Linked DNA regions of Homo sapiens: regions 1, 2, 3, 5, 6 and 7 are each linked to region 4. The links are contacts of gene promoters, found by promoter capture Hi-C in blood cells and fetal thymus (Javierre and others, 2016). All regions are on one chromosome and are shown on one strand. Each heading gives the region's core, a stretch centred on a gene start or on the middle of the fragment in contact. The rest is flanking DNA. Distances are from core to core; before and after follow the strand shown. Region 1 overlaps PRR5L (proline rich 5 like). Region 2 overlaps COMMD9 (COMM domain containing 9). Region 3 overlaps PRR5L (proline rich 5 like). Region 4 holds the start of TRAF6 (TNF receptor associated factor 6). Region 5 has its middle 3.1 kb from the start of PRR5L. Region 6 overlaps PRR5L (proline rich 5 like). Region 7 overlaps PRR5L (proline rich 5 like).

Region 1 (3,168 bases), core at 565-3,064, 130 kb before region 4:
CGCGCTAATCTGACGGGGCGCGGCGTGGCGGGGGTAGGAGCTAGGGAAAAGTGTCACGTTTGGGGGGGCAACCAGGTGGGAACTCCTGCATGGTTAAGGATCCTCCGATCGGACGCTGCAGGCAGGCGTAGGGGATCTTACTCGAGACCACCATGGTGGGGAGGTGGGCAGGCCACGCTCCCGGTCTGCTCTTTAGGGTGGTTGAAGTACCGCCGTGAGGTGGGATGCGGATGCTGGTGATCATGGGACCTAGGCTGAGCCGGGAGGTCGAAAAAGAAAGTCGGCTTGTTTGACTCTCTCGTTCTCCCTCTGGGGGGCAAATCTAAAGAGCTGACCCCGCTTAAGCACGGGAGATTTCGCGCCTGCAGCAGCCTTTTCCCGGCGGTCCCCCTTTTTCTGGAGGGAGGCGTGGGAGAGAAGGGCAGGGCAGGGAGCCACTTTGTCCCGTGCGCTGCTGCACGCGCGCGCTCTGCGGACTAGGGTGGGCCAGGGCCCAGCCAGTGGGGATCCCGCCGGGACGGGCTGTGAGCAAGCCCTGGGACGGCCCGGCTGCGGACCCCGCGCTGGGAGTCCGCAGTATCCCCCTTCCGTTTTATTTCTCCCGCCTGCCTTCCTTTCGGCGAGGCTTTCCTCTGCGCGCTTACTGTGCGCGCATGCCGGGCTCGCTGCACGCAGGGGGCGCTCTAGGGGCCCCGCCCGGGCAGCTGGGACCCTGCCTGCCCAACCCTCCGGCCCATTTTCCTTGAGGCCGCCGCCCGGGGTGGGACCAGGCTGTGTGCTTGCTAACTGTGCTTCAGGAATCCGCTCTGGGATGCCTTCCTGTCTGGCAAAAGGGGTTACCCCCAGTTCTACCCAGTCCCTGTCCTCGGTCACATGCTGCCGCCGCCTCTTCCCCCGCGGTGCCGGGAGCCCGCGTTTTGTTTGTCAGCAGTTAGGCGGTGAGTATTTATAGACGCCACGGCAGTCCTGCGGTGCGCAAGGTTTCAATTACTGCGATGCGCCCCACAAGACGAAAGGTTCACGCGCTGCGTCTGAGCTGCACGTCTGCCCCGGAGACCCGCGTGGAAAAAGCTCTGGGCTGGAATCTCCGGGCTTCCCTGCTTGGGCAGAATTCTGGACCTGTTGCCCAGACGACACGTGCACATTCAGATGACCCATGCTAAGGACCAAAGGGATGCCACCGGCCCAATGTACTGCCTTCATCCCCCACCATCCTCAAGGGACCCTTGCTGATCAAGCCCGGGAGACTACCCTTTTTGACCTCTCTTTGGTGATCCTGACCACCGTAGAAATTTGCAGTCATGACATTTCATTGCCCTACATACTGCAAAATGTCAAAGTGCTGAGCTGTGGTAAATTGCTCTGGGGTGGAAGGCGCTGTTACTGACAACACGAAGCAGCTAGCGGGTCAGGAGGGGAAATGGAGCTTGCAGAAACTAATTTAGCCACATTTAAAATTTAGCCCCTGGTAAGGTTCCCAGTATGACTGACGAAGGTGCAGGGCTCCTGTCTGTGGAACCTGGCTGGTTAGTCTTCTCTGGTTGCAGCCCTAGAATCAGGATCAAGGGTGCTGTTTAGAGCGGTTTCTGTAGCATGTAGCCTTTCAGATAAGGGAAGTGATGCTTGGTCAATCCACAAAGTTGTCTTCAGTTTTTCCAACTGCAACCATTGTTCTTTGAGTATGTTACTGATGCTTCTAACAACTGGAACCACTAATATGTAAAAGAAGAAAGGCACTAGAAATAAGAAAGTCTAACTAGCTTATTTCTCAAAGGCTTAGTTTAGACTACTTTGTTTCTCAAGGGTGGGACCTCATTTCTTTCAGGTCCAGAGGGCCATGGATATATATTTATTTCTGTGGGTGAAATTTCAATAATGTTCTGTCTTAGAACATTACAAATATGTGCCACTTGTTTTAAAAAGGGGAAAGGTGCAAATGCCTCTTGAGGTCTTAATGATGTCTTAAACTTTGCACTGAGAGACTTTGATAATATTATATACTCCTCATGCAAACAATGATATAGGTACTATTATATCCCTATCATATAGATGAGCCCACTGAGGCTTGGAGAATTTAAGTAATTTGTCTAAAGCCATACACACAGGGATGGAGCTGAGAATGGATTACAGATTTGTTACTCCAGACTCATAGTCTGGACATGTCTTTCCCTTCAATTCTCCATTGTTGATTAGCTCACGTTATAGTTGATTAGATGGATGGCTTTTTATTTATTTTCAAAATTTCACAGAATGTTACAAATTGGCTCAGTTATTGGGGAAAAAAGCCCTAATCTTGTCTTTAGAAAACTGTTATATTGGTTATCTGAAAATCTCTTGCTGATAGTCCAGACCTAAATCATAATCCTCACTTTGCTCCTTGACTTAATGTATCTTCAGCATTAAAGCCATTTATCTGTAGAAAATTGAATTCAGTAAGGACTTTGTGGATTACTTAATTTTTTCAGATTTCTCCATACTAATGATTTGTAGGTATGCATGTGTCTGTTTTCCTGTGGCTGTTCCTTTTGTACAAGGTAAAATATGCTGAAATCTCTCTTAAATTGCAGCCTTTTTCCTTTTCATTCTTTTTGCAGAGCTAGACCCAATACAGAATTGATTTGAAAAACAGTGTGTGAGTTCCTCTGAAAGATCCTTACAATGTCTAATGTTCATCATTAAAGGTTTGTTCTCAAGAGTTGCCTCTCTGTATGTAAAATGTAAATACATGTTAAAGGCAATGCTTGTAGAAATGACCCTTTGTTAACAAGTCAGTGTGAATTAATATTTTAGTTGCTGAAATATAGGAATAAAATATTTTGTGGATTTTGTACAGAATATTATGGGGTTTGGAATTGGGGAACAAAGAGAGCGGTACCCTGATAAGCAGAAAGCACTGTTTTACAAGAGAAGATTTCACATGGAGCCAAGGAGGGGGATGGATGGCAGTGATGGGGCATCAGAGGTGAATTTGAGTTAATTCACATTTTTGTCAGTACCTGGGGATCCAAGATTTACTTTGAAACTTGTACAGTTAAAACAAATGAGCTGACTTATTTATTGGGCAACTTCTGTGAGTCAGGTATAGCTATGGTAATGGTATTTGCGCCTCCCAACAACTCAGGTAGGAAGGTATTATTTTCTCTATTTTCAGATGAGAAAACAGAGGCT
Region 2 (3,273 bases), core at 70-2,569, 240 kb before region 4:
ACCTCCTCCATTCACTCCATACACAAACTAGCAGAGAAGCTGCCAAAACAAAGCACTCCAAGAGCAGGCTGCAAGCTGTTGCCATGGAGATGATCTGGTGAGTGAAGGGGGAATCTTCACACATGGAGTCCCTGTGAGGCGTGAGGCACATGACAGAGATGATCTCATTTGGTTAAACTCGAAGGAGTGCCTTCATCATAGCTCTTGTAACAAGCACATACTGATGATTAGCCTTGCTTCCTTTTTATTTATTTTTATTTTTTGAGACGAGTCCTTCTCTGTCACCCAGACTGGAGTGCAGTGGCACGATCTCGGCTCACTGCAAGCTCTGCCTCCCAGGTTCACGCCATTCTCCTGCCTCAGCCTCCCGAGGAGCTGGGACTACAGATGCCCGCCACCGCGCCCAGCTAATTTTTTGTATTTTTAGTAGAGATGGGGTTTCACCATGGTCTCGATCTCCTGACCTCATGATCTGCCTGCCTCGGCCTCCCAAAGTGCTGGGATTACAGGCGTGAGCCATTGCGCCTGGCCACCTTGCTTCCTTTTGTTCTACGTAACAGGTGAAAACACAGAAAGTGGTGCGATTCAATTGCCTGATTTCATGTCACACCATGGGTCAAGGGCTTAGCTGGGAATTAGGAAGTTGGGATCATCTTTAAAAACTAGAGAAGGTACTGGCCAAAAGCTTCAACTTGGGGACAAAAGAAGCTACAAAAATCATGGAAGTTTTAGAACTGTTGTTTAGTTCCAATTATTCCCACTTCTTCACCTAGGAGTGGCTGCATTAGATGAAGGAAGAGGGCCCTGGTTTCATGAAGAAGGGAATTAGCACCCATTTCAGACTTCCTACACTGAAGAGGGGTTCCAGTATGGTGGAGGGGGCTCAGGGAACACTCTGGATGGACCATGCTCTGTGGGCTCTGCCTGGCTTCCCTGACAGAGGAGCAGGAACTGCTGGCATCACCTGTCCGATTCCCTCCATGTGTTCTGGGATTGGAAATGAACTAATTAGAGCTAATGTTGGAAATAAACTTACTTATTGGATAGGCTGCATGATTTGGGCCTGAATTTCTCAAACAGCTATGCAGAGGCAGCTGACGATGCAAATGTTCCCTCACCCTGCCATGGTGGTAATTAAGTTGCACTCAGGAGCTTTTCAAAGATGGGGGCTTCTGCTCTCCAGCTTCAGAAAGAGAAAGAAGATGAGTGAGAACAGCGGGGGATCTGGCTGCTTCTTCCCAATCCAACTGTAACTTCTGGATGGCAGTAGCCCCCTGCTGTCCCCACCATCCTGCCTGTTGTCAGCTGCAGCTGCAAGGGCAGCCTGCATATGGGGAGACATTTATCACTCATGAGCAGCTGGGTCATGGCAGTGGCCCTGGCAGCTGGCTGGATCATTTACTGGCCACGGCAGAGAGTTGGTCTCGGATGCGGCCCAGGCCATCTAACATGGTGTCCAGTGTTTCTTTGCTCAGCTCCACGGTGACAGCTGAGATGGAGGGTTTGTCTCCGCATAGGCTGGGATCTTCTTGGATCTGAAACGAGAACACAGCCCAGAAAGTCAAAGCTGCCTCTTTTCCCATATCCCTGTAAGTGAGCCCTGAACCTGCGAGGCTGAGCTCAGTTCTGCTGAACCTCTGAAGAGAGGCTCTTTCCTAAGCACTAGAGAGTACCAGCCCTTGGGTCATTTAGCAGTAAGGGAGAGTACAGGAGATACCTCAGAGGCCTGGGTCAGTCTCCATTTGCAACAAGTGCCTTGGGTAGGTATCAAAGAAGGCCAAGCCAAGGCTCACTCACCTCTCTGATACCCTAACTCTCAGCATTCAAGCAAGAAAACATTACGTGTGTTTACATTGGTACTTTAAGGAGCAGGTTCTGTTGGATACTTCAGACAATCCTGCATTGGGATGCAGGAACAATCTTACAACCTTTAGTTTTAAAAAATAAAGAAGTTAAGCTTCACTAATATTTAAAACTTAATTGCTAGAGGCACCCTTCTTCATTTTCTTACAAGTGGTAACTTTCTGGGTGTCTGGTTATGTAGATACAGCATTACATTTCTAGTTTTAACTAAACAAACACTACAATATGGATATGTAGCTTAAAAAGATTCCTGAAAATAACTATAAAATGAAGACAACACCAATGAAGCAAAGGTATGTGAGCAAGAAAATGAAGACCTGACACTTCTCCAGCTGCTAGTAGAAACTTTTTTTTTTTTTTTTGAGACGGAGTCTCACTCTTTCACCAGGTGGGAGTGCAGTGGTGTGATCTCGGCTCACTGCAATCTCCACCTCCTTGGTTCAAGCGATTCTCCTCCCTCAGCCTCCTGAGTAGCTGGGACTATAGGAGCCCGCCACCACGCCCGGCTTATTTTTGCATTTTTGGTAGAGATGCGGTTTCACCATGTTGGCAAGGATGGTCTTGATCTCTTGACCTCATGATCCACCCACCTCGGCCTCCCAAAGTGCTGGGATTACAGGCGTAAGCCACTGCTCCCAGCGACTAGTAGAAACTCTTGAGCAGCCACATTACAAATAATGACAGCCTAATCACTGGACAAGAAGTTGCTGAAGTACACTGAAATGATCGGGCAGGCTATTCAAAATCTGGAAGCACACTACTATTGTTAAAGCTAAACTGCTAAGAGTATAGGGTTACCTTTAGGTATCAGCAAATTATTTTAAAAATATGTTTTGTATTTGTTTTATTGTTTTAATATGTCCATAGTATGTTACTGCAGTAGTACACATACACGTTGTAACTAAACAAAGGAGGATAAAGGGGATGGTAATTTAAAAAAATATATGGGTTAGAGATCCCAAACCTTGGAGACTAGTGTTTTAGACGGCCATAGGGGTGCTGCCTCTTCTTTCTAATGGCATGATAGTGAATGTACCTTCATCTGGAGCAGGCAGGTGGGGACGGCCATGCGGCTGATGCTGTCTGAGGAGGTTTTGATATCCACTCTCCAGTCCAGATCGACCAGGCGTGGCAGAGAGACTGTGGAAGGAACAGCTCAGCTCAATGCTCATGCCGCCCGTGTTTACCAAGCATTTATTGTACGACAGGCGGCTCTGAGGACTGCACACATGCAATGCATTGGTCTATGCAGCAAGTCTCTGAGAAAGACAGATAAACAAAGCCCGAGACCCACAGCGAGTCATGTGCCTTACCCATTGCTCTGTGCTGCCTGCACTTGGTACTAATTCACAGTGGCAGCGTATCCAGGCTTCTACCTGAACACCCAGCCCTCCAGATGTTAGGGCAGAA
Region 3 (3,213 bases), core at 171-2,670, 200 kb before region 4:
CTGTTTATAGCTGCTGTGCCATTCTGTGTCTTTGCCAAGACTTCCATTGCTAGAAATTGATTATTGAGGATGGAGAATATAAGTCGTCCACATCTGCTCTTTCTCTCTATCTTCAGGCCCCAATCCTCAAAGAAAGGGGATTTGAAAGTTTGGTTTGAGGCAGGTTTTTAGAAGTGAAGTAGTTGATTTTTGAAATGCCATGGTCTCCACTAGATAATTTCTACCTTGCTGTCTCTAGCCTGGAAGAGTGCCATTACACATTCCCCCTGGGTGTCTCAGGAAAGGTCACTTTGGGATGGTCTCCTCCTCGCAGCTTATGGGACTAACTTGATTAATAGTATTGCATTTTAGATTTAGAGGACTTTGGAAAGACCTGCTTGACCTCCCTTCGTGGGAATCACAATTTTAGCTGATGTGATAGATTGAGGTATTGTTCAGTAAATCTTCACTCATTTCCCTTCCACCTTGGGACACAGTACACTTCCTGAGTCACTGACTCTGGGCTTGGGCATTGACTTGTTCTGGTCAATGGAATGTGATCAGATATGACTCTATCAGAGGCTTTAAATAATGCTTGCACTGTTTGGCTTGGCCTTCTGCTATTCTGACAGCCAACAGAAGAGCATAACTTGGGTAGCCACTGCCCTTTCTCCCTGTGCTCCAGAATTAGTCACATGGAACAGACACAAACCTGAACTAAGGCAGAATTGCCCTAGTCAACCTGCAGATCTGTAAGTGAGAAAAAGAAAGGCTTATTTTCCTCAGTCACAAAGTTTTTATTTTGCAGCAGTATTGCAGCAATAGTAGACGGATACAGGTGAAATTTGAGGGCATTCAGCAAAGTGTATGGAGAGTGTAGACAAATTAGATAAGCTGTGAGAATATGTCTCATCGAAGCAGCTCCTGGAATAACAAGTGTTAAGTATGGCTCAGGGAGGGAAAGACTTGGAGTTGTTTTGGTGAGTTTCTTGGAGCAGCCTAAATTCTAAGAACTTTCTATAAACTGTTTTCTGACCTATTCTCACCAAAACAAGCATCAACGCCAAGAAATTACTAAACCATGTGTTTCATCATCAATACGCAAATGTAGAATAATGTAGAAGAAAGAGCACTAGACATGGTGAGGTTTTGGACCACAGCTGTGTACTAGTTTAGCTCACGTCTAGTCTGTGGCTTCAGGCATGTCATTTAATTTCTCTCAACTTTACTTTCCTCACCTGCAAGTTAATGGTAGTTTTAAGAATAAAATTATCAGGCATATCTATGGTTTTCAAACTGTACATTTAGTGATGGGATTTTCTTCAAAGAAAATCAACAGGTAAACCTGAGAACTGAATATCACAGTCAGTTTAAACATTCCTTATTTGGAACCAAGTCTTTTACTGTTGGTGGTAGTGAGCATGATGGTGGTGGTGGTAGTGGGGATGATGATGGTGGTGGTGGTATATGATTTCAAAGTCTCCAAAAATGTTTCCTTGTCTTCTCTTTCTTCCAGATCCCTCTCACTGGCTGTGATCTGAAAGCCACAATTAAAGATTTTGTATGTGTGTTTTGGCACACTTCTCAGATTAAAGGGATGAAGAGACTCATCCATACTCAACAAGTCCACCATAATGACAACACAGTCACTTTTACAGTTCTATGATGTCTCAAAGTGTCTGTACATCACCCATGATTATCCCGTTAGTTATGTGGCAATTCTTTGACTCCATGTCAAAGAATGACTCCATCATCCCCACTACCACCACCACCATCATCCCCACTACGACCACCACCATCACTATTAGAGCAGAACAATTTACCATCCTGACCTGGAAGCCTGTTGTGTCCTCTCAAAAGAACACATCATCATTCCGTGGCTTGACATAATGCTGGGCTTCTTTACTCATATGTGCTACAAATGGTACCCCAATTTACTCTGTCCCCAAGGGTATTCTCGGTTCACAACTCTGTCTGACAGTGAATAACAATAAGTACGATCAGTTGTTGCAAAAATAGATTTTACCGTTAGATCAAAACTTGGCAGCAAGCGCATCAAGAACTCCCGTGTGTCCAGCCCACTGCTTTAGAACTACTGCCTTAAGTATATTTCCACTTTGAAACTCACTCCCCTGATCCTTAGGAGCTGTTTACACTTTAATAAGAATGAGCCCATTAGAGTCCACCCAGAGAGCATTTAATAGGGGCGAAGTAGAGCCTCTTAGTTTGAATTCACTCAGGAGCAGACCCTGAGACAAGGATACAAATGCAAGTAATTTATTTGGAAGGTTACTGTTACACAAGTAAGGAAGTTAGGTGGGCAAGGGAAAGTAGCCAATAAAAGATGAATTGTCAAGAAAATTACCCATGTGGGTGACTGAAGCTAAATCCTACCAGGGGACTCCCAGAACCAGCATGGAACATGCACCCAAGAGTTCTCCCACACAAGAGGAAAAGGACTTGCAATATTTATACAGCAACTTCCTTAGTCACTGGTTAAGAATGTTCTCAGGGGCTGGGTGTGGTGGCTCACGCCTGTAATCGCAGCACTTTGGGGGGCCGAGGTGGGCAGATTACAAGGTCAGAAGATTGAGACCATCCTGGCGAACATGGTGAAACCCCGTCTCTACTAAAAATACAAAAATTAGCTTGGCATGGTGGCGTGTGCCTGTAATCCCAGCTACTCGGGAGGCCAAGGCAAGAGAATCGCTTGAACCAGGGAGTCAGAGGTTGCAGTGAGCCGAGATTATGCCACTGCACTCTGCCTGGTGACAGAGTGAGACTCCGTCTCCAAAAAAAAAAAAAAAAAAAAAGAATGTTCCCAGGAATATCAGTCCTGAATTTTCTGGCCTTCCATGTGCATGAGCATAATGCACCCCATAGCATCAATTACAGGGAGAATGGGAGGAAGGAAGAGCTTGAGAATGCAGCAATTGAGTTTAGGGAAGGAAAGGATGTCAAGGGTGTTCAAAGTTTCTTAATTCTCATTTTGTTCAGTGCTAGTCCCATTCTAAGGCGTGGCTGCTTGGCATAGCAGTTTTTAGTAAAAACCTTAAAGAGGTAGAAGAAGAAATATCACCTCTTGGTGACATATCTAGCACCAACAGGACATTTTCACAACTTCAGGCAAGCATTTCTGGCTTGGATGGGGCAGAGCCAGGGGAGCAAATGTCTTGGTAGAGTGGGCTATTGCTTGGCTCCTAATGGGCCCAGCCAAAGAAGCAAAGGCCTCCC
Region 4 (3,174 bases), core at 471-2,970:
AGTTATGTCTTAAATGAGTCAATTTTAAGTCAACTGAAATTCATACGAGTAAACATGTAACTTATTGAAGTAAAACCATGTAAAGAAAATATGAGAAATTATCTTTAATGTGCTACTAGCTTTAGAAACAGAAACTGTTTACCAGCTTCTTAAATTTCTAAAGTGTGAAGACCTACAAATGTACTCCAATGGCCAAGAGATGCTGCAAAATACTCAACTGTTGTGCCTTAACTTTGAATCCAAATTCAAGGGGCATTCCCCTTCCTGGGCACTATTTACTCTGCTCCAGGAGGCAAGGATTTGAACTTCTCTCCAAATCTAAGTGTCCAAAAGTTTACCGGCATCACATGCCCAAATTTATCACAGAGAAGAGCTCATGTTACAATTCTGAAATATTGTGGTGCATGCAGGCTGAAACTCTGATGTGATCCTGTACCCACCACATGCCGGACTCCTTCCTAGAGTCACAAAAGAGGCCACATTGTTCCTGCCTATACACTCAACCTCAAAATTTGAAAAGCCCCTCTCCCTTCCCTAGTAATCAAAGGAGAATGAATGAAATGATAGCGGCCAAGTTCACAAGGCCAACACAGAATTTCTTTACCAGTTTTTCTCGTTTCTACATGGAACCTGTGTAACAAGACATTCAGTAATAGTAATCTGCTCTCAGAGAAAGAAACAATTAAATACCATACAGCGAAGCTGCTAATACTTTATTTAGGTGCTTTCTGTTCACATTCAAGACAGTCCTAACTCAGCTGGAGTTCCCCTTAAGCCAAATACTAGGAACAGCTTTATCAACCCGGCGTCTGGAACAATCGCTCGAACTACCGAGTTTAGGGGCGGGGGAGAAAACATTCGTGTCATCTGAGCCTTTTTTTTTTTTTAAACTCGCTGCCTGAGACTTCTATAGAGTTCAACAGGGAATCCAAAAATAGCTTTCCCATGACAGTGACAGCCGGAGTCGCCAGGAACGTAAAGGATTTTTTAAAAATTTAAGCAGGTGTTTGCTCCAAGGAGCGGACAACTGCAGGAGGCAATTTCCTTATCTGGGAAGGGGAAAAAGCGGAGTTGAGGGGAGCGAGGTTGAGTAAGGCGACGCGGGGTTTTTTAGGGGGTGGAATGAGCGAGGAAGAGGAGGCCTGGGGAGCAGAGGTCAGGGGACAGGGAACGGTGTCCCCGACCTGTGGGAAGCGTGGGGACAGAGGCTGCGTCCCGACCTGCAGGAAGCGAGGGGCAGGGAACGGTGTCCTCGACCAGCGGGAAGCGAGAGGACAGGGGCGGCGTCCCCGACCCGTGGGAAGCAAGCGGGTAGGGGCGGCGTCCCTGACCTGTGAAAAGCGAAGGGACAGGGGAGGCGTCCCCGACTGGTGGGAAGCGAGGGGACAGGGACTGCGTCCCCGACCTGCCGAGAGCGAAGGGGCGGGGGGCGGCGTCCCTGACCGCTGGGAAGCGAGGCGGCGGCCGCCAGGAGGAGGCGCCTGAAGGAGACTCACCGTTCTAGTGCGCGGGGAGGCCGAACCAGGAGGGCAGGGCTCCCCCACCAACCGCACGACTCCGCTCAGCCAAGGCGCTGGTAGAGGACGGACACAGACACTGCGCGCCGAGACGAGGCTGCTTGGACGGCAAACTCTGGATCCAGTGGGAGCCTTCGCCACCTTCGCTGGCCGCCCGCAGGCCAAGCCCCAGCTGCGGACGCCACTGCTTCCGCCTTCTCTGCTGGCTGCGGGGAGCGAGGGGCAGGGAGCGCGCCGGGGAGGAGACAGAGCGGCCGAGTTCGGAGAGAGTGCCCCCTGGCGGTGATCCTCCAGGCGGACTGTGGCGCGGGCCGGGCGGCGCCCCCAGCCCCGCAGCCTGGCTTTCTTCCTGCTCGGGTGTCCCACCTGGGAATTCGTTGCACCGCACAGCCGAACCCGAGTGTGTCAATGGGTGTGTGTTGGAATGAGGATGGCGACGAGAAGATCCCTCCCGGAATAACTTAATTTGGTGAGCAGTGGCGACAGTAGTAATCCCAAACTGCGCTTTTATAGCACCCCTCTCCAAGCAGGAGAAAACCCCAGCTGGGCTAGATCGCTTGACCTTCAGGAATTCTTAAACCCCTCCCCAGCTCCACCCTCCTTGCCCAGGAAGTTTCTGCGATCCATAGAACCCTCTATTATTACCTGCTCTTCCCCTTCATCCGGTCCAAGGGAGTCAGCCCTTGCCTTAAATATTTCTTTGAATTTCCTGCCAAGAACACCAGCGCTTTGTCTTTCTCTGTCATGGGAAAACTATTTTAAATTCCCTGTTTAACTGGTCATAAACGTCTAGAGAATGTACCACGCGTTTTGCTGGAGAAGCACAAAAGAGTTTCATCCACCTCTGCATATTTGGTTCATCGTCCACCTCTTAGGGGAGGTTTTCCAGGATAGTAGTCATGCGTATGTATCCTGAAGCCAGAATGCTTGGTTCCAATCCGGTTTTTCCTACAATAAATGTGTGATTCAGGTAAAATACTTAATCTGTACTTGTTTCAGTTTTCTCATCTCGTATTAACATGGGGATAATAATAGTATCTACCTCACAGGGTTGTTGGAAGGATGAGATAAAATATGTAAAGAAATTATTTAAAACTATCTGGCCAGGCACAAATAGGCTCATGCCTATAATCCCAGTACTTTGGGAGGCTAAGGCAGGAGGATCACTTGAGGCCAGGAATTTGAGACCAGCCTGGGCAACATAGTGAGACCCCATCTTTACACAAAATTTAAAAATTACCTGGGTGTGGTGGTGCATATCTGTAGTCTCGGCTACTCTGGAGGCTGAGGTGGGAGGATGGCTTGAGCCCTGGCAGTCAAGGCTACAGTAAGCCATGATTGCACCACTGCATTCCAGCCTGGGTGACAGAGTGAGACCCTGTCTCAAGGAACAAACGAACAAACAAATAAACCCAAAACTAGGACATAGTATGGGCTCAATAAATGTTACCAATACTATATGTCCTACTTTCTGGCTGCCAATATTCATTAAAAATGCTTCTCTTTTTAAGAAGAATTTATCACTGGTTCTCAGGTTCTGTCAACCCCCTTTTAAAAGATTGTATTTTGAAACACTTAAGACATAAAAAGAGCACAAACATCTGTGTGCTCACCACCCAGCTTTAAAAAATAAAACATTGCCAGCCTTTGTGTATCC
Region 5 (3,573 bases), core at 107-2,606, 220 kb before region 4:
ATTCAACCTGAGTTGGAATCCTAATTCTACACATTATTAACTTTTCCGTGTACAAATTCTTGAACTTCTCTGGGCCTCAGTTTCCACCTCTGTAAAATGGTGTTCATCACACCCATCTAGTTCAGAGAGCAGAGCTGAGCGACAGGAGCTGCTTCAGTGGGAGGATTCCCAGCTCTCCTTACTCTCGCGGGCTGGTATGATATGAATGGCACCATGTCATCCCATTTTGGTAGGGCTGCCCAGATTGCCAATGCCATGTTGCATGTAAAGGTTTGTCTGTGGTCTGCAGAATGTCCAGCAATTTCTAAACCATAAACATTTTCATGGGTGGGAACAAAACAGAATGTCGGAGTTCATTTCTGTGATTTGGTCCCATTGCCTGGTTTTCATTAGGCCAAACCTAATTTCTTTCCAATTCTGAATATAGGAATCAGTGCTGACTTTCATTTATTTAATAAACTTGTTATGTGCCCGGCTCTGTTCTAAGCCCTTACATTTACTGATTAATTTACTTCCCATTCCTATCCTATGATATTATATATATACGTATGTATATACATACACACACATATGTACACACACACATAAGTACATATACATATATAAGCACACACACTGTATTGTTTCCATTTTACATATGGAGAAACAGACATAGGCAGATTAAGTAGTCTGAGGTCACACAGCTAAGTAGTGGCAAAGCCCAGATTCAAATATGGCCAGTCTGGCTCCAGATTCTGCACTGTTAACCGCCAAGCTGTACATGTCTCCTTGTTGTCCCACAGCTGTAAATTTGTGTTTCTTCTCTTTGCATGTCTGACTACCTTCCTCAGGCAGCAAGAACAATCTAAGAGTGTTCCTGTACAATCAGTCTGGTGATGGTGAGAAACAATATAATGAGTGAGTGGAAGGGCTACCTTGGGCTTTGGGAAAAGACCTAGGTTCAGTTTCCAACTCCTGTGTACTGTTAGCAAATTACTTCCCCTCTTGGAACCTCAATTTCATCATCCGTAAAATGGGAACAATAATAAAAATACCTTTTGGCCATTAGGGGGAGCTCAAGGATGACTTATACCCCAAAAGGGGAAGGATTGCTTATGTGGATTCTCAGTTCTAGTCATTGGCAACGCTAAAGGGCAGAGCTTTCCCCTGTTGTGGGCAAGGGTTTGCACGAGGGGGACTGGCCATCCCAGTTTTCCCAGGGATGAGGGGTTTCCTTGGATGCAGGACTTTCAGGGCTAGCGCTGGGACAGTTCTGGACAAACCAGGCCAGTTAGTCACCCAAGTTTGAGCCCTGAGCCTTGGGGGAAACCAGCCTTTTGGAACACTTGCCCTGATTTCTCCAGTGGGGCAGATATGAAGCAAGGGATATGGACACAGAATTTATTAGTAGAAAATGATTAAGGGCAGCAATCTTAGTATTGAGGGTTTTTTTATAGTAGCTTTATTGAAATAGAATTAACATTCACATACCATACAATTTATCCATTTGAAGTGTAAAATTCGATGAATTTTAGTATACTCACAGAGTTGTCCAACTATCACCACAATTAATTTTAGAACATGTTCATCATCCCCAAAAGAAACAGCATATCCTTTAGCTATCAACACCCACCTCTGCCCCCAATTCTCCCCATCACACCCAGCCCTAGGCAATCGCTAATCTGCTTTCTGTCTCTATGGTTTTGCCTTCTGGACATTTCCCATGAATTGGATCATATGATACGGTTTCTCCTCTTATACTAAGTAAAGGAAACGAGTACAAAAGACCACATATCATATGTTTTGTACTCGTTTCCTCTACTTAGCATAAGAGGAGAAACTTCTTCAAGGTTCGTTCATGTTATAGCCTGTATCGGTACTTCATTCGTTTTTTGCTGAATAATATTTTTTTGTACAGATATACCATAGTTTGTTCATTCATCAGTTGTAGACATTTGAGTTGTTTCTACTTTTTAGCTGTTGTGAGTAATGCTGCCATGAGCAATCATGTACAAAGTTTTTGTGTGAACATGTGTTTCATTTCTCTTGGAGTATACACTGAAGAGTGGAATAGTGGAGTTTCTGGGCCATATGATTACTCTGTGTTTAACCTTTTGAGGAAGTGTAAGACCATTTTCCAAAGTGACTGCACCATTTTACAGTCCCCAGAAGCAATGTATAAGGGTTTCAATTTCTCCACATCTGCACCAACATTTGTTTAAAAAAAAAAAGAGACAGAGAGATGGGGGTCTCTGCTCTTTTACCCAGGCTGGAGTACAGTGGTGTAATCATGGCTCACTGTAGCCTCAAACTCCTGGGCTCAACTGATCTTCCCACTTCAGCCTCCTGAGTAGCTGGGACTACAAGCATGCACAACCATACCCAGCTAATTTGATTTTATTTGTTTTAGAGACAAAAAATATGTTTTGTCTCTAAAACATATGTTTGCTATGTTGCTCAGGCTGGTCTCAAACTCCTGGCCTCAAACGATCCTCCTGCCTCAGCCTTCTGAGTAGCTGGGATTACAGATGGGAGCCACTGCATCTGGCTCTGCCTTTTTGATTATAGTGATCCTAGTGGGTATGAAGTAGTATCTCATTGTGAGCCGTCTTGTTTTGAAGTTGCATTGGTATATCAAACACATTTTGTAACTGGTTCTGTCTTTTTGATTATAGCAATCTTAGCGGGTATGAAGTGGTATCTCATTGTGAGCAGTCTTGTTTTTAAGGTGCATTTGCATAGCAAACACATTTTGTCACTTACGCTACTTTGGTTCATTTGAGGTAACTGATGAAGGTTATGGAAGCTTAAATAAACTCCTATTCTCCCCTTTGGTTTCACTACTAAGTCCTGGCTGCCTTCTTTGTCAGAGGAATGCCTGCAGGAGGTGGATTAGGCCCAGGGTCCTGCAGTCCTTTAAGGAGAGCCCTTGCCACCCTCCTGTTATTCCCCTAGTTTCCCTTTTCCTCACCTTTGTCTCAGTCCAGAGATGAGGGTGGGTTGCAGGGGGAAAGGGCTGATCAATCTTTTTGACTTTATGCCCCCTTTGTGGCTTTGACGTGGCCTGATCAGCTCACCAGTCGTCTTAGTCCATATGGGCTAATATAACAAAATACCATAAACTGGGTGGCTTTATCAACAACAGAAATGTGTTGCTCATAGTTCTGGAGGCTGGGAAGTCCAAGACCAAGGCATTGGCAGATTCTATGTTTGATGAGGACGGTTTCCTGGTTCACAGATGGTGTCTTCTCACTGTGTCCTCAAATGGTGGCTGTGGGCAAGGGAGCTCTCTTGGGCCTCTTTATAAGGGCACTAATCCCATTCATGAGGGCTCCACACTCATGACCTAATCACCCCCCATAGGTCCCACCTCCAAATACCATCACCTGGGGGTGAAGATTTCAGCATATGAATTTGTGGGGGACGCATACACTCAGACCGTAGCGCAAGTTGGGGACAAAAGCTCTGAGTGTCAGCAGGGTTGCACTGGCTTGGAAATGCTGGAAATCTGGAAATTTCCAGATCAGGCATCACAAACTGCATGATCTAGGGCTCACATTGCATTAACAATGTTGTGTTTGGTCCACAGTGTTT
Region 6 (3,599 bases), core at 851-3,350, 150 kb before region 4:
ATTGAGGCAACACCCTCCACCAGCAAAAAAGATTACTACTCACTGAAGCCTCAGATGATCAACATTTTTTAGCCGTATTTTTAAATTAAAGTATGTACATTTTTTAGGCACAATGCTATTGCACACACTTTTAATAGACTACGGTATAGTATAAGCATAACTTTTATATGCACCAGGGAACTCAAACATTTGTGTGACTCACTTTATTGTGATATTATTATTCACTTTATTGCTATGGTCTGGAACCAAACCTGCAATATCTCCAAGGTACGCCTGTATATAACTTCCAAGAATTTGGCAGTAACTGTCAGGAAAGAAATAGAATTACAACTACAAGGAGTAGCCAGCCATGTAGAGGTTTGTTTTTTCTTCTTCCCAAGGTGATAAATACACAATGGAAGTAAGAAAAAGGGCTGGCAAAGGGGAAGAGGATGAAGATACTGAAGAGGAAGGAAAGATACTTCATACATCTGGGAGGCGATAGTGCTCAGGGCACTGGTTAAGGGCTTTGGCACCTGGCTAGATTTGGAGATGTTTTGCATTTTACTTATTGACAATCCCTGATACATCAGTGCTTGGATTTTTAGTAATCAGTGGTTGGATTTTCAGTAACGTGGACCCACACTGACTTGCAGGCTCATATTCTTGTGGTTGGATGGTCCTTTATCTAATGCTAGGAGAACTGCATTTGAGTCCCAGTGCTGCCATTAAATAGCTGTGTGTGATTTTGGACAAATAAGTCACTTCATGTCGCTGAGCCTCAGTTTCCTCATCTGTAAGTGGCAGATTTGAACTAAAGATCCAGGGGTCCTTTGTACGTGAAGCGGTATTAACTTCTAATGAGAATAGAAGGATGTTCTGCCATTTTAGGTGAAAGATTAATCCTCTTATTGAAAGATTTTGTCTTAGCGTGGGAGAGAGGCCACAGTCACTTCCTTCGGTGTTGGAGAGAGAGGTGATTTGACCAGAATTGTAATAGAGTCCACATTATATTTATACAAGTGTATACTATTCTTTGAAATGGATTAATTTGTTACTGGAGTCTAGGGCATTAATTTTAATTTTAATTTTTTTACATATTAATTATCATTTTATTCTGGTGTTTTGTTCTTTAGGAAGACACAAATGTTTGTGATCAAATGCTGACAATCAATAATGATGCAAAGATGTCAGCAATTAGTGTAACACTTTCATTAAAACGTAGAAAATAACAGATAAGATACAGACATGATGATTCCAGAGCAGATGCCATGAAGACACTAACAGTATGTCCCAAAGGAGCGGATCAACAGAGACAGAGACGGGATAAATCCAGACTGGTCTATAACAGAAACTATAGGGCATTGTTTTAAATACTTCAGAAGCCTGGCCGAGTGCAGTGGCTCACCCGTGTAATCCCAGCACTTTGGGAGACCGAGGTGGGTGGATCACCTGAGGTCAGGAGTTTGAAGGCCAACAGGGCAAAACCCCATCTCTACTAAAAATACAAAAATCAGCTGGACATGGTGATGCGCGCCTGTAGTCCCAGCTACTAGGAAGTCTGAGACATAAGAATTGCTTGAGCCTGGGAGGCAGAGGTTGCAGTGAGCCGAGATCATGCCACTGCACTCCAGCCTGGGCGACAGAGTGAGACTCTGTCACACACACACACACACACACACACACACATACACACACACCCACACACACACACACACACAGACACACAAAACAGAAAACTTATGTTCTTTATTAGCTAAATTCATGCCTGAATCTCAGGAGAATCATGAAATATTGCTACCTTGTGTCTAGTAGAATGACAATGACATACTGTTCTTCTCTGGACAAGTCTACCTATTATTAGTGGGATGGTTACCTCCCTAAGTGTTGAGTTCTCAGGAAGGAGGATCAAATGGGATATCTATGTGCTAACCATCAGTTGCTAACAGTATTTAATAAGCATAATTTTCTCTAACCACCAGAGTTATAAAATATAACTCAGCAAATGCTTAGAGTGCCTACTATGTATAAGGTACCAAACAGGAAAATGGGGACGAGAGATGTCAGTTTTGCTGATCAAAGCCTGTCACCCAATAAAAACCCAAAACAGGAAACCATGACAAATATCTGACTATCTGGTGTGCAGCCATTTGGAACACAAAGGGGTATGTGCACATGTAACATCGCACATGTAACACACACACCCACATGCATGCAAGCCATCAGCTCAAGGCGTATGTGTGTGCATGCATAAATGCATGTGTGTGTGTATGTTTAGGGTCAGTGTGGAATAATAGGCTGAATAAGAGGGTAAGGTTTTATGATATACACCCAGGGGGAAAATCTGTGTAAGTCATGCTTTTATCTTGTTAGGTATATGTTATTACTCAAGAACACTTACACCTGGTGATCCAGCAGCTCAAACACACATACATGCACACACTCCTAACTTGATATCACCCTGGTGTACACTAATTGTCTTAAGCCACTCATTTGATTCAAGAAGCAAGTATAACTCTACAGCAGCAGTTCTCGACATGTGGTCAGAGACCCCTGAAGTTGCCTGCAGGAACTGTGAAGTCACGCAGGGCCCCATGCTCAGAGCTCAGTTCAATGTTCTGCTGTGGCTGTCTTGAAATGCTTTATAACTTTTGGACAAGAAACAGCACTTTCACTTTGCACTGGTCCCCACCTATGTAACTCATCTTAGTTGCTTGAGATCCTTTTAGGAGGTCCATGAGCTCAAAACTATTTTAACAAGACTAACAACATTAATATATTATTTGCCTTTTCTACTCTGATTTTCACACAAGTATACAGTGGAGTTTTCCGGAGGTGACATGGCATTGGTATTGCAACAGACTAAGTGCACAGCAGATACGAGAATCCAGATCTCTTAGGCCAGATATTCAAGAGATTTGCAGAAATAAAAAACAAAGCCACTTTTCTTGCTATATATACCTTTTGCTTTTGGAAAATATAGCTATTTTTCATAAAAATACATTACTTATGTTAATTTGTAATGGCTTTTAAAATTATTTTTAAATCGATTAATAAATAACCAAGGATTTTCTCAGTTTTAGTTTCTAATATGTTAAGTATCAACAGATATAACTTATAAAAACAAAAGACTTTAAGGCTCATAATAATTTCTAAGACTTTAAAGGGTTACTGAGTTCAAAAAGTTTGAGTCACTGATCTCTAGGTATTTACTGTTTCTACCAGAGGAAAGAAATCATTGTGGGAATGTGATCAAACGATAGTGTGTTTGCTTATACTTGTTCATTTATGTGGGCAAATCAATGTCTACTGAAAAAAATGAGGTAAAGAGACAACCTTTTTCATTACCCTTGGACTTCTGCAGAATTTTCCTAAGTGTGACCTAACACAAGTCACTTGTTTTTACTTGTTTTTCTCCTTTGTTTTAGAGCAGCAGGTTCTAGGTTATATCTAACTCTTGTGGTTTTCTAAAATGGAATGGCTGTTAAAGAGAGATCGCGAGCCTCTCTTCCCTCGAGGGGCTTGGGAGAGGTGATACAGACGATTCCAGCATGAGGCACAGTTGGATAAAGTGACCTCTGAGGGTCCTTTCAGTTTGGAGGATGCTAGTAGAGAGAGTC
Region 7 (3,524 bases), core at 256-2,755, 170 kb before region 4:
CCTCCCAAGTAGCTGGGACTGTAGGCATGCACCATCACACCCGGCTAATTTTTGCATTTTTAGTAGAGACTGAGTTTTGCCATGTTGCCCAGGCCAGTCTTGAGCTCCTGGGTTCAAGTGATCTGCCTGCCTCTGCCTCCCAAAGTGCTGGGATTACAGGCTTGAACCACCGCGCCTGGCCTTTTTTTTTTTTTTTTTTTTTTAAGGTATAATGCTAGCGCTGGTATGTCAGGGATTTTTCTGTGTTGCTCTCTGCTGTATTCCCCTAGTGCCTAATCTAGTACCTGGTAGGTGCTTAAGTAATGTTTGTTGAATAAATAAACGTCATTCTCATCAATAGAAAAGCATGTATTTTTCTAAGATGTGTTATAAACATATAGCTATTACAATTAAAAATGTCTGCTTCCCATTTAGAATCCTCTTGCATGCCACCTGTAATACACCTATGTACCATAGTTTTCTAAACTGCATAGCAATTGTCACTGAAGAAATTATCTCATATCATTATTTACTTATTGGCTTTGTCCCTCATAGATGGGTACCTCTGTTTCTTAAGAGTTTTGTCGACCTCTGTATCCTGAGCATCTAGCACTGTGTGGGGGCACATTACAGGTATACTACAAACATATATAAATAAATAAATATCTTTACAGTTATCCTGGCATGTAAATTATTATCTCCATTATCATATAGATGAAGAAGAAACCAAGACATAGAGGAGTTAGGCCATAAAGGTTGTTGCTAAAAAGCAACAACCTTTTCAACATTTTCAAAATGCATTGTATTTGCCACGGTCGCTGGGTCATGGGTCATTCCCCCATGGGTCATCCCCCCAAAATTAATAACCCCCAATGCAATAGTATTAAGAAGGAGGGCCTTTCAGAGGTGATTAGGCCATGAGGACTCCATCCTCCTGAATGGGATTAGTGCTCCTACAAAAGGGCTTAGAGAAGTCTACTTGCCCCTTCCGGCTTCTCCCCTCTTCTGCCACGTGAGGACTCAGCAAAAGGTGCCATCTATGAAGCAGTGAGCAAGACTTCACCATCTAGCCCTCTAACATCTTGATCTTCAACTTCCCAGCCTCCAGAACTGTGAGCAATAAATGTATGCTCTTTGTAAATTACTCAGCCTAGGGCATTCTGTTACAGCATTCCAAATGGACTAAGAAAATTTTCTTGTGTATTTATGACTTTTTAAAATCCCAATTCTTAGAATGGTTTTACCTCCAAACAGGTTTCAGCACATGCTCATTTATTCTTCTTGCCTAAATGGCTGCACTCAACTTCCTCTCTGAGCTCTTAGCCTCCTTGCGTCCTTCCTGCACAGTTGCTGCCATATTGTTCCGCATGGTATCCTCCACACCACATATTCATCTTACAACCTGCCTGCTCCTAAACTTCCAATGGTTGCCTGCTGCTCCAGGACGAAAGTGTGAAGTCTTTGGCTTGCTCATCAGTTATGAATAATTTCAGGCACAGGTTAAGATCCAAAATAATAATGGCTTATATCACAAAGAAGTTTCTTTAATGTGAAACAGTTCAGAGGTCAGATGTCCCAGGCTGATATATTCATCAGGGAGGTTGGTCCCTTTCTTTTCCTTTCATCATCTTTAACATTGTGCCTCATGATCTAAGATGGTGCCAAAGTTTCAGCCATTATGTTCACATTCCAGAATTTGTGCATAGGACTTTCCTTTAAGTCTTATTCTTTAGAACTTTGTCACGTGGCCATACCCAGCTACCAGTAAGGCTGATAAATACAGTCTATGCTAGGAAAATAAATTAGATGTCTTGTTAAAAAGGAAGAAGGGGAGACATCTAGTAGTCTCTACCATAGCCTGGCATTGAAGGCCTTTCTCAATCAAGTATCAACCCAGCTTTTCAGGTTTCCTTTACTTACTTGCAGTTCTTAATACTCTATCCCCATTGAGCTCCTTTGTTCACAGTCTCTAAAACACACCTTGTATTTGTCACTTTCTCTCCATTCATTCACCCCGCTTGAAATGCTTTCTTGCTTGACATCCAAGCTGTAATTTTGTTTCCATGATTCTTTCCCGTAATTGCTGGAATCTGAAATGACTTCTGACGTGGCACTCTTCTAGAAATGACCATGAGATCTCTTCAGATAATCACTCTCTTCTGCCTTGGATTTCTCTTCTTTGGATTAGTTGAAAAGCTAAAATCTTTCATTGTTAATTTTTTACACACTTAGATCTTACCCCTCACTTCAACCCCTCATTCTAGATTCCCTGACGGCAGGATCCCCTTATGTAGGGAATATTTATTGGCCTCATAGTTCACATGTGACATCATGCTCTGTGTTGGGAATTTTGTATGGAATAAGATGTTGGACCACTCCTCAAAATCCTCATATTGCCTATGAAATCTGGTTTTTTTGAGACAAAGTCTCACTCTGTTGCCCAGGCTGGAGTGCAGTGGCGTGATCTTGGCTCACTGCGACCTCCGTGGTATGGTTTGGCTGTGCCCCACCCAGACCTCTACTTGAATTGTATCTCCCAGAATTCCCACGTGCTGTGGGAGGGACCTAATGGGAGGTAACTGAGTCACGGGGGCCCGTCTTTCCCGTGCTATTCTCGTGATAGTGAATAAGTCTCATGAGATCTGATGGGTTTGTCAGGGGTTTCCACTTTTGCTTCCTCCTCATTCTCTCTTGCCACCACCATGTAAGAAGTACCTTCTGCCCTCTATCATGATTGTGAGACCTTCCTCAGCCATGTGGAACTGCAAGTCCAATTAAACCTCTTTCTTTTGTAAATTGCCCAGTCTCAGGTATGCCTTTATCAGCAGTGTAAAAATGGACTAATACACTCCACCTCCTGGGTTCAGGCAATTCTCCCACCTCAGCCTCCTGAGTAGTTGGGATTACAGGCGCCGGCCACCACACCCAGCTAATTTTTGTATTTTTAGTAGAGACATGGTTTTGCCATGTTGGCCAGGCTGGTCTGAAACTTCTGACCTCAGACGATCCACTCACCTTGGCCTCCCAAAGTGCTGGGATTACCGGAGTGAGCCACCATGCCTGGCCTTGGAATCTGGTTTTAAAACTTGTATATATTAAGTACTTTGTAAATCCCTGTTGGTTTATTGAGGAATAAAAGCTGACACTTATTTAAATTATTATAACATATTCACAATAATATTTATTAACTTCTATGTGCTAGGCACTATGCTAGTCTTTCATGTATATCATTTCATTTCTTTCTTTTGACATCTAGGAGGTACACACCATTAATTTTTACAGATAAAAATGAGGCACAGAGAGGTTAAGTTACTTGCCCAAACTCACACAGCTGGTAAGGGGTGGAGCCAGGATTTAATCCAGGCAGCTTGATTCCTGAGCCTAGGCTCTTAGTCACTATGGTAAGAAGGTGACTGGAAAACAATGGTGGTCTCATAATTTAAAGATTTACTGCCTTTATTTAAAATATCCATCCACAATGTGGACAATGCCAGCTACCCCACCCCATTAGGAAGCTTTCTTGGGCTGGGATGGCCTTGCCCCAG

Evidence for each region. Contacts are between HindIII fragments. The CHiCAGO score rates a contact against its expected background, and 5 or more counts as called.
Region 1: a contact is called between a fragment that was not itself captured here and the fragment with the promoter of TRAF6 in region 4, in 1 of 17 cell types (neutrophils). The highest score is 6.0, in neutrophils.
Region 2: a contact is called between a fragment that was not itself captured here and the fragment with the promoter of TRAF6 in region 4, in 11 of 17 cell types (neutrophils, non-activated CD4 T cells, total B cells and 8 more). The highest score is 14.8, in neutrophils.
Region 3: a contact is called between a fragment that was not itself captured here and the fragment with the promoter of TRAF6 in region 4, in 2 of 17 cell types (neutrophils and non-activated CD4 T cells). The highest score is 10.0, in neutrophils.
Region 5: a fragment that was not itself captured here is called in contact with the fragment with the promoter of TRAF6 in region 4 in 17 of 17 cell types (neutrophils, total CD8 T cells, total B cells and 14 more); the score reaches 24.8 in neutrophils.
Region 6: a fragment that was not itself captured here is called in contact with the fragment with the promoter of TRAF6 in region 4 in 1 of 17 cell types (neutrophils); the score reaches 7.0 in neutrophils.
Region 7: a fragment that was not itself captured here is called in contact with the fragment with the promoter of TRAF6 in region 4 in 1 of 17 cell types (neutrophils); the score reaches 6.2 in neutrophils.

What each region holds. Positions count from the first base shown.
Region 1 is chr11:36,376,787-36,379,954 of GRCh38, forward strand. The region is part of intron 1 of PRR5L (proline rich 5 like); the gene reads left to right. Among named protein-coding and RNA genes, the nearest start is that of PRR5L, 82 kb to the left of the region's middle. RefSeq lists an enhancer at 409-980 and a silencer at 574-723. The HindIII fragment of the contact is 4,948 bases long and covers 1-3,168 here.
Region 2 is chr11:36,273,238-36,276,510 of GRCh38, forward strand. COMMD9 (COMM domain containing 9) reads right to left here. Exons shown (of 6, transcript NM_014186.4): 5 at 2,900-3,003; 6 at 1-1,535. The coding sequence ends at 1,395. Among named protein-coding and RNA genes, the nearest start is that of COMMD9, 15 kb to the right of the region's middle. The HindIII fragment of the contact is 1,272 bases long and covers 684-1,955 here.
Region 3 is chr11:36,308,225-36,311,437 of GRCh38, forward strand. All of the region lies in intron 1 of PRR5L (proline rich 5 like), which reads left to right. Among named protein-coding and RNA genes, the nearest start is that of PRR5L, 14 kb to the left of the region's middle. The HindIII fragment of the contact is 4,413 bases long and covers 1-3,213 here.
Region 4 is chr11:36,508,552-36,511,725 of GRCh38, forward strand. It overlaps TRAF6 (TNF receptor associated factor 6), which reads right to left and starts at 1,721. Exons shown (of 7, transcript NM_004620.4): 1 at 1,497-1,721. It also overlaps a transcript of RAG1 not described here. RefSeq lists an enhancer at 1,540-1,589. The HindIII fragment of the contact is 10,105 bases long and covers 1-3,174 here.
Region 5 is chr11:36,291,433-36,295,005 of GRCh38, forward strand. No RefSeq gene overlaps it. Among named protein-coding and RNA genes, the nearest start is that of PRR5L, 3.1 kb to the right of the region's middle. The HindIII fragment of the contact is 2,854 bases long and covers 1-2,783 here.
Region 6 is chr11:36,358,396-36,361,994 of GRCh38, forward strand. All of the region lies in intron 1 of PRR5L (proline rich 5 like), which reads left to right. Among named protein-coding and RNA genes, the nearest start is that of PRR5L, 64 kb to the left of the region's middle. The HindIII fragment of the contact is 8,514 bases long and covers 1-3,599 here.
Region 7 is chr11:36,336,349-36,339,872 of GRCh38, forward strand. The region is part of intron 1 of PRR5L (proline rich 5 like); the gene reads left to right. Among named protein-coding and RNA genes, the nearest start is that of PRR5L, 42 kb to the left of the region's middle. The HindIII fragment of the contact is 3,974 bases long and covers 1-3,492 here.